Linked DNA regions of Homo sapiens: region 1 is linked to region 2. Evidence: promoter capture Hi-C in 16 types of primary human blood cells and fetal thymus (Javierre and others, 2016). All regions are on one chromosome and are shown on one strand. Each heading gives the region's core, a stretch centred on a gene start or on the middle of the fragment in contact. The rest is flanking DNA. Distances are from core to core; before and after follow the strand shown. Region 1 overlaps MAPKAPK5 (MAPK activated protein kinase 5). Region 2 holds the start of RPL6 (ribosomal protein L6).

Region 1 (3,013 bases), core at 420-2,919, 540 kb before region 2:
CCTACCTATTGATACATTTCCTCTGTTCTCTTTAAGGTACGTCTGCACATGATGTGTGCCACACACCCAAACATAGTTCAGATTATTGAAGTGTTTGCTAACAGTGTCCAGTTTCCCCATGAGTCCAGCCCTAGGTAAGACTACACAGTGTCATCATCAAATGCCCACATGTAGGCCAATGTGTAGTGGAGCTGTCCTCTCTTTTATGTGCTCCCTCCCCTTCCCTCTCCTTCTTCCTCCTACCCTCGCTTCCTCTGCCCTTCCTTCTCCCCCTCCATCTCCCTTTTTGTAATTTGGAAAATGTCAAGCATTTGTAAAAGCAGACAGAATTATGTAATGAATCCTCAAGTTCTCATGATCCATCCTCAACAGTAATCCTCTTGTGGCCAGTCTAATTTCATCTATGCCCCTACCACTCTTCACATCCCCTGATGATTCTGATTACTTTCTCATTTCAAGAAAGCATTTAATGTAGAATTTAAACAGATTCTATTTCAAATCAGTGAAAGGGGCCCAAATATTATTCTAGGCAGAGTCTTAGAGGCTGATAAAACAAAAAGCCTTTATTATTGCTTAGTCTAACTTTCCTTTTAAAGAAAGAAATCAACATTATTCTTTTAGTTACCAAATGTTTGGCAAGCATATTGGGTGGCATTCTAAGTCTCTTTGTTAAAATTCAAAATTAAATAAGGTATGGTTTTTTTGGGGAAGACTGAGATGTAAACCCATCATCATAGCAGTGCAATAGGCACTAAGGACAGGCATCCCTAAAATATTCTAAGCTTACAAAGGAGAGGAGCTGCTAACTATAGTCTGGGAGGAGAGGTGTCTCACAAAGGCTGTGTGGAAGCTAGGACTTGAAGGAAGGGTAGGAATTTTCCAGATGGAAAAAGAAGATAGAATTTTAAAAACAAATGGGAAATCAAACAAATGGGAAAAAAACGCTTATTTTTCACAACTGTGCTCTGTTGGTGAAAGCATTTGGATGGAAGCTGGAAGCATATATGAAAGAATGGTAGCCAAAAATCACATTAAAATTTTTTTTTTCAGAACATGAGAATTTTTGCTCTTAGTAACTGTGTTACCCTGGACTTAGGAAGTTGTTACACACTTTGTAGATGCAGTATCTTTAGGTCAGCTTCTTAATGTTTCAGGGTTTTTTGTTTCTTTTTCTTTTTTTTTTTTTTAACTTAACAAAATCAAATGCTTTCAAACAGGGCCCGACTCTTAATTGTAATGGAGATGATGGAAGGGGGAGAGCTATTTCACAGAATCAGCCAGCACCGGCACTTTACAGAGAAGCAAGCCAGCCAAGTAACAAAGCAGGCAAGTTAACCCCAGGTACCAATCAAACTGCCACCAAAGTTGGTTAACAAGCACAATTTCATTGGGGGGAAGAAAAGAAAACTTAAAGAAAAGCTCTATTTGACTTCTCATTGCCTGCTTTGTTATGTAATCAGAAAAGATGTTTTGACAGGAGAAATGTGACCCCTTTTATACTTGGGGGTGGGGGTACTGTGTTCTTAATTGGTTGTCAACTGTTTCCTGAGGCTGCTGTGAGATTTCAATAAACTCTGGAAGGAAGGCATCTTAACTGCTTTGTAGACTGCAGTTATCTTTAGGCATGTAGCTACCAAGTACTGTTATTGGACTTTGCAATAAAATGCTGCTGATACCACCTGAAAGATTGTATGGTATAAAAATGTATTTTAAGAGAATTGTACATAAGATGCTTCCTGCATGTGAGCCACCTTTCTGTGATTTCTTCAGATTTAATAATATCCTAAGATCTTTGTAATTCTGAATTATTCCTGGTTATATTCTATGTTGACATCACATTTTATTGCTGTAGAAATGATTTATGTCACAAACAATACTAGGAATCCAGCTGATAATCACTTCTTGCAGAGGTGAAAAGCTAAACCCTCAAGGCTTATCTTCATACCAGGCAAGCAAAGCAAAGAGAATTAGGAAGCACAGCCCAATTGCTTCTTAATAAAAAGTTCTTCCAAGTTTCCCATGAACCTTAAGCAATTTTGGATGCCTCCTTTCTGGTAGGGAGGAACTGATACTTGGATTGCTGAGAAAATGCCATATGGAGAGTTAAAGAACAAGTAAAATCTGTTCTTTCTGTTTGATTTTTAAAATTATACCTTTAATTTTTTCAAATATTAGGATTAAAGGATGAGCTCTGATAATCTTCTATAAAATAAAACCCCTTCAAATCCACATAAACAGGCAACATTTTCAACAAGCATGATGAGCAAAATGAGTTTCCAGTATGAATTGGAAAAACCCAGTCAGCTGATTTCTTGACCCTCAGCTCCCTGGAGAGTGCCATTCTTGTCTGAGCCCTGCTGTGGGAACTGCGCCTGCTGACCATTGCTCAGCTTAGGTGTTTCTTCTGCAGTGTCTGTCATACCTCAGATGAATGAAAGTGGGAGCATTTCATTTTTCCCATTTCTTACAGGATTTACCCATCAGTTTATTCTGACAAAGAATTGCTGTACCATCATATTTTTCTTTCTGTCTGACAAAATACAAGTTGCAGTTAAACTAAGCTTAATCCATTCTGTTTCTTGGTATTCCAAGTTTTTCTTAATTTCTGCTTTAAAATTGAAAGTGAACGCAGTCTTAATGAAGGCTTGTTTTTTGACATCCTGAGTTCTCTACGCCAGGTGTATTAAAGAGTGGTCTTTTCTAAGAAGCGACTGTTTCATTGTGTCTTTTTTCAGATAGCTTTGGCTCTGCGGCACTGTCACTTGTTAAACATTGCGCACAGAGACCTCAAGCCTGAAAATCTGCTTTTTAAGGATAACTCTTTGGTGAGAAGACTGTTTTTCTGCATTTTAGTGCTGCAACTCTTAACATAGTTCAGGAGTGGGTGTGTTTGGAGCGCTCTGAATTCATGGTGAAAAAGCTTTAAGCCAAAGTGCTTCAAACAGCTTATTTCTTCAACTCGTTCCCTTGCTAGAGGCTCAGAGAAGCTGTACTACTGTACTCCCGGCATTGA
Region 2 (3,134 bases), core at 104-2,603:
TTTAACCACCCGGGTACCGCCGTTCTTGTCACCACCAACTGGTTTTGTAACAGTTGCGAGAACCTTCTCCTTCTTTTTCTTTTCAACCTACAAGGACACAAATGCATCAACAGTAAGAGAATGCCAATTAAGGTTAAGACATAATGGTCCGTGGTCCTCTTCCCTTACCTTGGATTTAGCGGCTGAGTACTTCCTCTTGTACATGGCCTTTCTGGAATACATGGCAGATCGGGAATACCTGCCAATTCCTCTGACAAGGACAGGGTTGCGGCTGCAATGGGGCTTCCCCTTCTTGGGCTTTTTAGCTTTGAGGTTACCCTTTTTCACCTTGCCACCAGCATCAACCTTCTTGGCTTCGGGTTTCTTCTCTTTAGTATCTGGCTTCTCAACTTTTTCACCCGCCATCTAAAAATATTTTTTTGTAGATAAAAAAAGGCATTTCACCAGTCATCTCTCTAACAAGACAATAATGAACCTGTACATGAATGGGCTGGGCTCCCCAGACTACAATCCCTCCCCCGGTAAGATACAGGCCTTCCTCTCAAACTCTACCCATTCTACTCCAACCTTCACTATGACTCATTTGGGGTTTGTCTCCCCAATACACTATAAACTTTTTTTTTGAGAATTTGAAACTACCTCACACCTATTAGGTTTTTTGCCAAATACTGAGCGGTCAGAAGTCCGTACAACCATTATTTTTTATTACTGTTTTGCGAATTAGAAAACTTAGATGCAGAATGTGTCCACAGGTTAGAAGCACCAAGACCAGAACTTGAAATCCCTTACTTTCAGTACCTTTCGTCTTAACCCTTAAGACCAGTGTCTCTTTTCAAGAAACTCGATTTAGGAATTGCGGACACAAACGGAATCAGCCCAAATTGAGCCAGAGAAAAAGATCGCAAAGACCAAGAGGCGACTTCCGGTCGGGGACGCTGGGAGACGCGAAACCTTTTGGCTTCAGTGCGGAACCCCAACGTGGCTGCGACAGGCTCAGTGTCATCCTCTGGAACCCAGGACCAGGAACACAGTGCACGCGCCGTCTCCCCGCTTCCTCTAACACCCACCAGTCTGCTACGGGTCCCCGAAAGGGCCTCGTTCCCCCAGCCCAAGAGAGTGGCGAAGAACCGGAGGGAGCCACTACGGCATTCTACCTCACCCTCTTTGTGCCCTGCCGCAAACCCAAACAACAAAAATGAAGCGTCTGGAAGGCCTCTCAGTTAGCCTTGGACATGTCCGACCCCTGTAGGTGTCGACTGGATGCCCTCCAGGTTCGGATGGCGAAGGATTGGGAGTCCTGAACTCAAGTCTTGCAGACAGGCCCGCGATTCTTACCTTGCAAGATGGGAAAGAGAATTAAGGTCCCGGCTTCCGGTCTATAAGCAATCATGGGAAGTGCGAGTCTCACTTCCTTCCGGATCTGGGGCATCATGGGGAATGTAGTATTTCCCCGTTAAGAAAAAAGTAGTAAATCCTAGGCCGGGTGCGGTGGCTCACGCCTGTAATCCCAGCCCTTTGGGAGGCCGAGGCAGGAGGATCCTCTGAGGTTGGCAGTTCGAGACCAGCCTGGCCAACATGGTGAAATCCCGTCTCTACTAAAAATACAAAAGGTAGCCGGGCGTGGGTGGTGCGTGTCTGTAATGACAGCCAGTCGAGGCGCGGAGGCAGGAGAATCACTTGAATCTGGAGGTGGAGATTGCAGTGAGCCAAGATCGCGACACTGCGCTCTAGGCAACAGAGCAAGATTCTCAAAAAAGAAAAAAAAAAAAAAAAGGGCCGGACACGGTGGCTCACGCCTGTAATCCCAGCACTCCAAAGATCGTGCCACTGCGTGCCACCGCACTCCAGCCTGGGAAATAGAGCCAGACTCAGTCTCAAAACAATAACAACAACAAAAAAAAGAAAAAAAGAAAAAAAATTAGCCGAGTGTGGTTGTTAGTGCCTGTAGTCCCAGCTATTCGGGAGGCTAAGGCGGGAGGATCACTTGAGTCTTGGAGGTCTGGGCTGCAGTGCAGTGAACTCTAATCTTGTCACTTGAGATTAGGTCAGTGGTCCCCTCTTCCCTTACCTTGGATTTAGCGGCTGACTACTTCCTCTTGTACATGGCCTTTCTCATTCCCGTCCTCCGGCCTGGCCTACAGAATGAGACTCTGTCTTAAAAAAAGTAAAAAAAAATTAAAGTGAGGATAACAATAGTAACTTACTTCATAAGGATGTTGGGAACATTAAATAATATATACAACAGTACTGAGAAGCATATTTGATTATTTGATGGATGGTAAATGCTACATAAGTGTTAGCTCTTTTTTTTTTTTTTTTTTTTTTTTTTTTTTTTTTTTTGAGATGGAGTCTCGCTCTGTCACCCAGGCTGGAGTGTGGTGGCACGATCTTGGCTCACGGCAACCTCTGCCTCCTGGGTTCAAGTGATTCTCCTGCCTCAGCCTCCCAAGTAGCAGGGATTACAGGCGCACACCACCATGCCCAGCTAATTTTTTGTATTTTTAGTAGAGACAGAGTTTCACCATGATGGCCAAGCTGGTTTTGAACTCCTGACCTCAAGTAATCCACCCGCCTCAGCCTCCCAAAGTGCTAGGATTACAGGCGTGAGCCACCGCACCTGGCGAACTGTTAGCTCTTGTTATTGTCACCATCACCACTACAATCATCTGATCATCAACATCCTAGTTGTTGTCAAGTATTCTGCTAAAGTTTATGCATGGGAGATAATAGGCAATATTGCATACAATGTGCCTTGCTTTATTTCATTTAATTCTCCCAACAACCTGTGAATGATACTATTATGAGGAAACTGAGTCTCAAGGACATTAAGTAACTTGCTCACAGCATAGATCTGATTCCAAAGATTGCACTCTTAACCATTAGGCTGCAAGATTAAAGAGATGATTAATGAAGATGCATGAGAGTTTTGCTCATGTTAGAATTAAAAATAAGAATATTTATTATCTTTTACAAAATACACAACACAGTATATGTGATAGTTCTTTACTGCTTCAAAGCCCTTAAGCCAACATGTACACATTTGTAATACCTTCTAGCTTGCGTTTTCCATTTTCCTCCATTCGTTTCTTTCTGGTTGCTAGAGCTTTTCACCTTGATTTTTTCAGATCGAAACC

The links. Contacts are between HindIII fragments. The CHiCAGO score rates a contact against its expected background, and 5 or more counts as called.
Region 1: a fragment that was not itself captured here is called in contact with the fragment with the promoter of RPL6 in region 2 in 2 of 17 cell types (erythroblasts and total CD8 T cells); the score reaches 5.7 in erythroblasts.

The regions. Positions count from the first base shown.
Region 1 is chr12:111,867,536-111,870,548 of GRCh38, forward strand. MAPKAPK5 (MAPK activated protein kinase 5) reads left to right here. Exons shown (of 14, transcript NM_003668.4): 4 at 37-134; 5 at 1,218-1,326; 6 at 2,736-2,825. Among named protein-coding and RNA genes, the nearest start is that of MAPKAPK5-AS1, 26 kb to the left of the region's middle. The HindIII fragment of the contact is 1,779 bases long and covers 781-2,559 here.
Region 2 is chr12:112,408,252-112,411,385 of GRCh38, forward strand. It overlaps RPL6 (ribosomal protein L6), which reads right to left and starts at 1,354. Exons shown (of 7, transcript NM_000970.6): 1 at 1,336-1,354; 2 at 169-405; 3 at 1-87. The coding sequence starts at 405. RefSeq lists an enhancer at 985-1,164. The HindIII fragment of the contact is 30,731 bases long and covers 1-3,134 here.